Regions from separate parts of the Homo sapiens genome. Here regions 1 and 2 are each linked to region 3. Evidence: promoter capture Hi-C in 16 types of primary human blood cells and fetal thymus (Javierre and others, 2016). All regions are on one chromosome and are shown on one strand. Each heading gives the region's core, a stretch centred on a gene start or on the middle of the fragment in contact. The rest is flanking DNA. Distances are from core to core; before and after follow the strand shown.

The links. Contacts are between HindIII fragments. The CHiCAGO score rates a contact against its expected background, and 5 or more counts as called.
Region 1: a fragment that was not itself captured here is called in contact with the fragment with the promoter of FRY-AS1 in region 3 in 1 of 17 cell types (endothelial precursors); the score reaches 5.7 in endothelial precursors.
Region 2: a contact is called between a fragment that was not itself captured here and the fragment with the promoter of FRY-AS1 in region 3, in 1 of 17 cell types (fetal thymus). The highest score is 5.1, in fetal thymus.

Annotation. Positions count from the first base shown.
Region 1 is chr13:32,565,012-32,567,881 of GRCh38, forward strand. No RefSeq gene overlaps it. Among named protein-coding and RNA genes, the nearest start is that of PDS5B-DT, 20 kb to the right of the region's middle. The HindIII fragment of the contact is 410 bases long and covers 1,132-1,541 here.
Region 2 is chr13:32,641,598-32,644,909 of GRCh38, forward strand. All of the region lies in intron 1 of PDS5B (PDS5 cohesin associated factor B), which reads left to right. Among named protein-coding and RNA genes, the nearest start is that of PDS5B, 57 kb to the left of the region's middle. The HindIII fragment of the contact is 322 bases long and covers 1,258-1,579 here.
Region 3 is chr13:32,030,025-32,033,199 of GRCh38, forward strand. FRY-AS1 (FRY antisense RNA 1) reads right to left here and starts at 1,615. Exons shown (of 4, transcript NR_103839.1): 1 at 1,427-1,615. FRY (FRY microtubule binding protein) reads left to right here and starts at 1,750. Exons shown (of 61, transcript NM_023037.3): 1 at 1,750-1,841. The coding sequence starts at 1,772. The HindIII fragment of the contact is 3,062 bases long and covers 767-3,175 here.

The DNA.
Region 1 (2,870 bases), core at 87-2,586, 530 kb after region 3:
GGCTGGAGTGCAGTGGCGTGATCTTGGCTCACTGCAACCTCCGCCTCCCAGGTTCAAGCAATTCTCCTGCCTCAGCCTCTGGAGTAGCTGGGATCATAGGCACATGCCACCTGACTCAGCTAATTTTTGTATTTTTAGTAGAGATGGGGTTTGGCCAGGCTGGTCTCAAACTCCTAACCTCAGGTGATCTGCCCACCTTGGCCTCCCAAAGTGCTAGGATTACAGGCATGAGCCACTGTGCCCAGCCTTCTTCTTCCACGTATTTTTAGCATAGTTTTATTTGTGTGAACTATGGTACTCCATGTCCATTGTAAAGTCTTGATTTTCCTGTGAAGAGGGACTGAAAGATGAGTGGGGGAAATGATGCCTATTACCAGAAAGCGTACTTGTGAGGACATCTAATCCTGGACTGACCAATGCCTGGACTAAGTTGAGAAACCGACTTCTGCCTTAGGGGCCCCAATCCATCTCTGACGTTGTCACCTTTTTTGCTGTCACCACTGGTTAGGATTCCCCCTCACTTCTGTCTTACTTCTCTGCTTAGGATTTTCTCACACTGTCACTTTCAGAAACAAGTACACTAAGCACAATAAGGAAATAAAAGTATCATTTTATTATTTACAAAATTCCTCCTGGTGTCATCTTGGGAACAATGCAATGCAAGTCATGCAGGCAGACAAATGAACTGGGGCTTTGCTTATGACCCATTCTAAGTTGACTGTAGTTTTTTTTTTTTCCCAAATGCCAGTTTCTAGCATAAACAATGTGATATCAGTGTGTGTGTTTGTTTAAATCTACACTCTAAGACTGGTTTGTGTCCTAATTAGGAATATGTGTTTCAGCAATAGTTAGCTAACATTTAATGAAAGGCCACATTCCTGTCTCAAAAAACAAAAAAACAAAAAAACAAAAAAAGGCCAAATTCCAAAGGTGACTACAACATCCACTTTAGCTCTGATCAACACAGAGTTTTGTAATTAGCATTTGGGATGCTAGAAATAGGTTTTGTTGATGAAATTAGTGGTGTTCAAGATGTAAGTGTAGATATATATAGAAAGTTGTGTCAATAAGCAGAAATACAGAAACAATCCTCACCTTTGCATTAAAAGGGTCATCTTTGGAGTGGTATGAAGCTTTATTCTGATAAAGTTTGTATTCCACCCCTATATTAGTCCATTCTCACATTGCTATACAGAACTACCTTAGACTGGGTAATTTAATTCCATTCCATGAAATAAAATTATAAAAAGTTTTAAGGCATAAGTTAATTTTCTCACTCAACCCCCCATAAAGAAAAAAGGTTTAACTGACTCACAGTTCTGCAGACTGTATAGGAAGCATGGCTGGGAGGCCTCAGGAAATTTACAATCCTGGCAGAAGGAGAAGGGGAAGCAGGCATGTCTTACATGGCTGAAGAAGGAGGAAAAGGGCGAAGGGGGAGGTGCTACACACGTTTAAACAACCAGATCTCATGAGAACTCACTCACTATCAGAAGAAAATAAGGGGAAATCCAACCCCATGATCCAGTCACCTCCCACTAAGCTTCTCCTTCAACATTGGGGATGACAACTCAACATGAGATTTGGGCAGGGACACAAACCCAAACCATATCAGCCACTAATTTGGAGAATTCCTATTGCCTGTCATCTATAAAGTAACTGAATTCATCTCTGTTGTGTTGGTTACAATGAACTTTTCGTGCAAGTCGTGATGAGCACATTTGAAGGACAAAGTTGGGCCTTCATTGAGCTTACAAAACAAGTTTGTAATTTTTGTTTCTCTGTTTCATGCCAGTTTGCTAACAAATGTCTGCATATGTAGCAGAATTTAGTCTGAGATTTGCTCTCTTTATAAATCCGTTAGCAAAGTTGTGGCTAAGATCCTTACATCCCTCCTATACCCCTAAATATATATGGCTACTTATGGCAAAAAAGAACTCAGTAATTGCAAATGGCCAAATTGAGTTGAGTTCATTATTTTATTTTATTTTTTTAAACAGAGTCTTGCTCTGTCGCCCAGGCCGGGGTGCAGTGGCGCAACTGACTGCAACCTCTGCCTCCTGGGTTCAAGCAATTCTCCTGCCTCAGCCTCCTGAGTAGCTGGGATTACAGGCGCCCACCACCGCACCCAGCTAATTTTTATATTTTCGGTAGAGATGGGGTTTCACTATGTTGGTCAGGCTGGTCTTGAACTCCTGACCTCATGATCCACCTGTCTCGGCCTCTGAAAGTGCTGGGATTACAGGCGTGAGCCACCGTACCCAGACTTGCTTGGGTCCATTCTTAACACCTATCTATCAGAATGGAACAAGGGCTAGAAGAAACGACATGAACTTTAACCATGGGCCTTGCTTCAAAGGTACAACCAAGTCATCAATAAGAGCAAATGATTACCAGAAAGTGATGACAACCCAGGAGAAAACGATCTTATCAATTTTGAGTGTGTAACCACTAGGGGTACAATGGCTAAAGATAAGAACTATATATATGATATAAAGAAAAGATGGTTTCAAAGTATTGGTAAACTTTTATTTATTTATTTATTTTGAGGTGGAGTTTCTCTCTTGTTGCCCAGGCTGGAGTATAATGGCTCAATCTCAGCTCACTGCAACCTCCACCTCTCGTGTTCAAGAGATTCCCTTGCCTCCGCCTCCTGTGTAGCTGGAATTACAGGCATGCGCCACCACGCCTGGCTAACTTTGTATGTTTAGTAGAGATGGGGTTTCTCCATGTTGGTCTAGCTGGTCTCGAACTCCTGACCTCAGGTGATCCATCCGCCTCAGCCTCCCAACGTGCTGGGATTACAGGAGTGAGCCACGACACCTGGCCCAGTATTGGGAAACTTTAAAAAGTGTAATTTTAATTTTGCA
Region 2 (3,312 bases), core at 169-2,668, 610 kb after region 3:
TACTCTCATTTTTCTAAAGCCATTTTCTTGACTTTCTTCTGTTTTCCTTCTTTATCTCCCCTGTGGGCTCCCACCACCCCAATCACTATAGGTATTTCATTAAGGTTTAGTGTTGGTATCTCAGCTCACCCTACTCATTTTCTTTACTCATCTTGTAAACCCATAAAGCATGAACAATAAATTGTTCTAAAAATATTTTCTCATTTTACACTTTTTTTCTAGAACTTTAGATGTATAATCTACAGTTGCCTTCTAGAGCAAACTTTATTTTTCCCAAGACTTAATCTCTCTCTCTGGGTTTTCCCCCATCTCCATTACAACGAGGGCAGAGCTCTTTCTTGTACATTTGCTCATCATTGTATTCCTAGTACTTAGTGTATTGCACCAAGCAAATTCTCAATAAATATTTAAATAAATGGCCTTCTAGGAACAAAGGTTTCGAATCTTATAATCATGTTCTGCTTCTCTGGTATAATCATTCGTAAGTCGTTGAATCAGTTTTCTTGTTTTGTAGTCATTGCCTACAGTCAGTTCCTCATTACTTCTTTCTTGGAATTTTGCAGTAGTTTTCTAACTTGTTTTAATTTCTCCTGTGTCTAGCTCTACTTTTTGCTGTAACCATAATTTCTTCGAATAGTTCTGGTCGTTCATTCATTCATTATTTCCTGAGTGCCTACTACTGATAGTAGCTATTTGCGATAGATGCTAGCAGATAGATGCTAGCATAAATGTTATATGCTACTTTTCTTAAGGAGCTTACAGTCTAGTGGGAGAGACAAAGATAGAAATAAGTACAATAGATACAATGTGATAATTGCTAATTGTAGTAGGTTCAAAGTGTGACTAGCTGTAGGGGAGGAGCCTAGCTCTGCCTGGTTGAGGTCAGAAAAAGTTAAAATGAGACTTTAAGGTCTATAGAGTTTGCTTAGTAGACAAGGGCCAGTATGTTTTACTCATAGGAAAAACAACCTGTGTATATTCACAGAGGTGTTTCAAACCTCTCCTTACAATGCTGTTCATAAGACTGAAGTGCAAATTGAGTAACCTCCCTCTTTGTTGTCTCTTTATTTTTTCCGTCTTAGCTCCCTTTACTTCCTTCCACCTTTTCCTTCAGTCATACTTCTGGTCCAGTAACTGAAATTTGCTCTCTGAGATTTATTCAGAATGTTTTTTTCTGTCTTTTTATTCTGTGTATTATTACCACTTTACCCCTGTCCACTTACAAAAGTGGTTTTTCTTTCAGTCTTATTTTTTCCAAGCTTGTTGTTTATTTCTGTTAGGATAATTTCAGAATCAACTGTGATTCACTTATTTAGGGGAATGTCTGTTTCTCTTCATGGATTTTGAGACCCATTTTACGTGTTTTGCTCTGTAGTTTCTGCTGTTGTGTTCTGCATATGAGGTGCTTGATAAATTTTTGGTTACATGGATGAGTATATTTTACAAGGTCACTCTGTCTACATTGTATAGCTGTGGTCTGTGGCCATATTCATGTATTTGTTTTTATGAATCATGAACAGCTTTTGTCTCTGAAATAAGGCAGAGAGACTTTCTTCCACTCCAGACTCAGTGGAAGAGAAGCTTATCACATTTATCAATCCATTTATCAATCTTTCCCTGGAGTGCTTTGTCCTAGGCATTGGCTGAGTATCTTCTTTGGTTGAAGGAATGTAACTATGAACTTGGTTCTTGCTAGTGTTTTTCCTAACCTGAAGTCATGCAGCTATTCTCTTTTATCATATTCTAAAAGCTTTTAACACTTTGCCTTTATATTTAAGTTGTTACTGTACCTCGAATTCATTTTGTATATGGTGTGAAATATAGGTACAGTGTCCTTTTTAAAAAACTTAGATATGAAAGTGTCTTCAGAACTTTTTATTGTATTCTCTCTGCTCTTTCCTGTTATCGCTACCACTTTTTTTCATATACAGTTGCGTACCACACAACTTTTCTGTCAGTGATGGACTGCATATATGATGGTGGTTCCATAAGCTTATAATACTGTATTTGTACTGTATCTTTTCTATGTTTAGATACATTTAGATACACAGATACTTACCATTGTGTTACGGTTGTGTACAGTATTCAGTACAGTAACATACTGTACAGGTTTGTAGCCTAGAAGCAATAGGCTATACCATATAGCCTAGGTATGTAGTAGTCTGTTCCATTTAGGTTTGTGTAAGTACACTGTATGATGTTTGCACAACAATAAAATTCCCCAACAACGTATTTATTAGAATGTATCCCATCATTAAGTGATGTATGACTATGCACAGGAGGAACACAGATTTTTGGATGTTAATCTTGTATCCTGGAACGTCGATGAACTAGTAGTTTATTTTTTGTAGATTCCTTTGGCATCTTCTGTGTAGATAATCATGTTGTCTGGATGTAGGGACAGTTTCTTTTCCAATATGTATGCTTTTTATTTTCTGTTTCTTTGTGTGCTGCCTAGGGCTTCTAGCATTATATTGAATAAAAGTGCTGGGAGTAGACATCATTTCTTTGTTTCTGATCTTAAAGGGGAAGCATTTAGTCTTTTACCATTAAGTATTTGTGTTACCTGTTGTTACCTGTTGGTGACTTATGCTTGTTATGGATGTCCCTGACTTATGGTGGTTCAACTTAGGACAATTTTTTGACTTTATGATGGTGTGAAGGCAATACACATTTGGTATGTTTCTTGACATATGATAGAAATGCACTTTTGGCTTAACTATATTTTAAATTTACAATGGGTTTATTGGGACGTAACCTTATTGTAAGTTGAGGAACATCTCTATATTGATGTTTTTTACTTTTCATCCTTGCTAAACTCAGTCTTAATAATTCACATGTTTTATCTGTAAATCCTTTTGAAGTTTTTATGTATGTAAACATATCATCTGTGAATAACGACTGGTTCATTTTAAATCCTTATACCCTTTATTTCTTTTTCTTTCCCTCCTTTGTTGATTAGCATCTTTATTGCAGTGTCAAATTAAAAAAAAAGTGATGATAGTAGGTATGTTCCTGTAGTTCCTGAACACAAAGCTTTTAATGGATTGTCAGTAAACATTATTTATGCTGTAGGGTGTTTATAGCATCCTACTTATCTCAGATAAAGGAAACTTTCACCCAATTCTTAGTTTACTAAACTTGTTTCTTGTTTCGTTTTTGTTTTACAGTCATGAGTTGTTGAATTTACCAAATTTTTCTTAATTTATTGAGATTTGAAAAAATCTGTTTAGTATATAATTTAAATATGATTTTCTTTTTAAGCCTGTTGATGTGATGAATTTAACCTTGCCTTCCCGGGATAAACACTTA
Region 3 (3,175 bases), core at 365-2,864:
CATCAGATGGGCGTAGGTATGAAATTTATTTTCAGATATAATAATTGTTTCAAGGTAAAACCTTTGGGTCTTATTTTACCTAGAATCCATACATTCAAAGTACAAGTGATAAAATCAGTTCAGCAACTCTAGTATGCACATGAATTAAAAAGAAGTCAATCTGGTGAGAGATTTCATCAGAATAAAGTGTATAAGTGGAGTTGGAAATCTGAGTGATTGAGTGCTTGCCATTTGGGTAAGTGTAATGAGTTTGAAAAACTAATTGTATTGATGAAGTATCTTAGGGCCTTTCAGAACATAGTTCTAGAAGTTTTATTTAGTGTTGAATTTTAAAAATTCTTTGTCCTAACAATAAAAGTACATTGTAGTCTTTCCCTTCCATTTTTAAAATGAACTGTTAATCTAGGAAGTCCTGTTTGTGTGTTGATTTGGGGAGTTAGCCCAACATTTGCTATGTTAAATACTTATTAACATGGTTTATTACTTTTTTCTGTTTTTTAGACAACATTAATCATGAATGTACTGGGACTTGGGAAGGATCCTGTGGTTTATGAGATAGTTGGCCAAATCCCACCTCTTCCAACATAACCTGTCATTATTAAAATATAATACTCTTATTTAATCCCCTGGTCAAGCTAAATGATAATGTGAAACAAAGCTAACCAAAATCAGGACACCTGATATCAAGAATTCATGAAATCAAGAGCCATTGTAGAGCAAGGAATCTAATGCTTTTGCTTCTTATCCTTTTCATACAAATAAAATAAGCTTCACTGGGCTTAGTGAGTCTTAGAAATGAGAGGTTTGAGAATAAGATCCATTGTGGAGTGTGTGACATTACAAAAACAAGCCAACTAAGCAGTGTGTACTGTCCCCTTAGAGTGCACACGTTCGGGCTCCGATGCCCCTTGAAAAGACTGCATTTCTGGGAGGGAAAAGTAAAAATGCAGATACCACCATGCGTGTGGAAGGCAGGGAAGAAAAAGCCCAGACAAGCGTCCTCTTGTTGAGTCTCTTTACTGCAACGAGGCTGACGGATGGGGTTTTTCAAAACGTCGCTGCAACCAGATGCAAGGCTGCAGCTTTGCTTACCGCAGCGTGCTGCAGTTGTGTTTATTTCAGGGACAGACACAAGGGGAAGCAGCAGCCAGAGCACACCCGGGCCGCTCACGGGAAGCCTTGCTGAAGAGAGAGGATCCGCAGAAGCTGGGAAATTCCTCCCGCAGCCTAGGCGGAGACTGAGCCGCGGCTCAGGTTGAGACAGTGGGCAGGGGCAGGGGGCGGCGCTCCCGGCCCATCCCTTAGCCCCGCGGCGGCCGTGTGGGCCGGAGGCTGCCTGCACCGCGTCAGGGAGGCCGGCCTAGAAACCCTCCCTCCCAGAAGAAAGCCGATCCCAGTTCAGGTGGGGTCTTCCTCGGTTGCGTACCTGGCTGGAGCCGAGCTGGTGGGCGGCCGGCAGCCGGCGTTTCTGGTGATGACAGCCCCGAAATGAAAGCAGCGCGGCCGCCGCCTCCGAGGGCTGCAGGGAGATCAGCGTCCAGCAAATAAGAAGCAAGTCCTGGACCCGGAGGAGGAGGAGCGGCCGAGCATCTCTCTCTGCTCCGCCGTGTCCTTTAGATGAGCACTCCCGGCCGGAGCCGGAGGTGGATCCGCAGAGCTGCCTCTGGGCGCCTGACCCCGCGCTGACATCACAACCTGTGACAGGCGCATCACGCCCGGTACCTGCTCCCGGCCGCTGCCCGTCCTCCCAGCCTCTTTGTATGCCGCAGACATGGCCAGCCAGCAGGATTCGGGCTTCTTTGAGATCAGTATCAAATATTTACTGAAATCCTGGAGTAATAGTGAGTAATAGAAAATAACCTTTTTGTTTGTTTGTTTGCTGGATGTTGCATAAGGCTGGAGACAGAAAATCTCAACTGGACACATATGTTTGTGAGCCGCGGAAGTTTTTCTTTTTTTCTTTTCTTTTCTTTTCTCTTTCTTTCTTTCTTTCTTTCTTTTTCTTTCTTTCTTTCTTTCTTTTTTTGCTCCCATCTGCTGTGAAAATCAAAATGTCAGAGACTGAACTAGCTTTCCTTAAGTGCAAAGGCTGCAATGGAATTACAGTAGATTGTGTTTGATTAAATTTTCAAGTGAGGCAGCCCTTCAGACTCTGGGGGAGCTCAGGATCAGGCATTCCTGGCTGCATTTCCTGCCTTGATGTTTATTTGATTTGTTCAGGCTTTCTCTAAATATTTTGTGAAGTGTGATTTAATCAAAGGGGTGTGGCAGGGTTTCAGAGTACTTTGTAATTGTTTTTTTAGGGTATTGTCTGAAGAAAGAAAAGTATTTAATAGTCCAAAACCTAGGACATCCTTTTTGTATATAGAGGCATCTGCAGATTTATTTCATCTCTCCCTCTTCCATGTGGATGATGTTCTGAATGCCATTTAATATTTGAATTTTTAAAAATCCTGATGTTTGCTATAGTCCAAATATTGTGCTTTTTTGAAACATAAACAAGTGAGGTTCTGACCCTAATTATTTATTAGGATAGCAGAATATGATGGCTCCTGAAGTTCCATTTCTGACCTACATAAGGATTTTAGCAATACGCTATTTCAAAAAGACAACCTCTAAGCTGCCGTGGATCTGGAATCAAATTAAAATGAGGCCTTCAGGTGATCAATGATGCCTTGTATTTTCCGAACTGTTTAAAAAGAAAGTCTTCTCTATTTCACTAACAGCCTTTGTACTTGCTTTGGATAAAAGATCAGCAGGTATTACTGATGCTTTATTGTTTTAAATAAAAAAATTTTTTCCCCGTGAAAATTTTAATATTGTATTATGTGCATACTGATTAACCTACCTGTGCTCAAAGAGCTAGTGATTAATTGTCTCCTACACAAATGACCTGTGGCCAAGATTGTTCTTATATAAACAAAACCTGGGCAGGAGAACCTGTGCTGCAATTGCTTTGAGGAAAAGAGCTAAAGTACCTTCAGCCTTAAGGTATTCAGGGATGTGCATCTCTAAATGATATCCATAGAAACCATTTTTTCCAGGTCATTTTGCACCACTGTATACACTATGGGGCTTGTCTGAAGCTGTTTTTCTACAAGTGGGAAGCCATTTGGGAGTAATACTGTTGCCCAAACAGCATTCTTTACTTGTCATAGCTATAAATCATTTAACT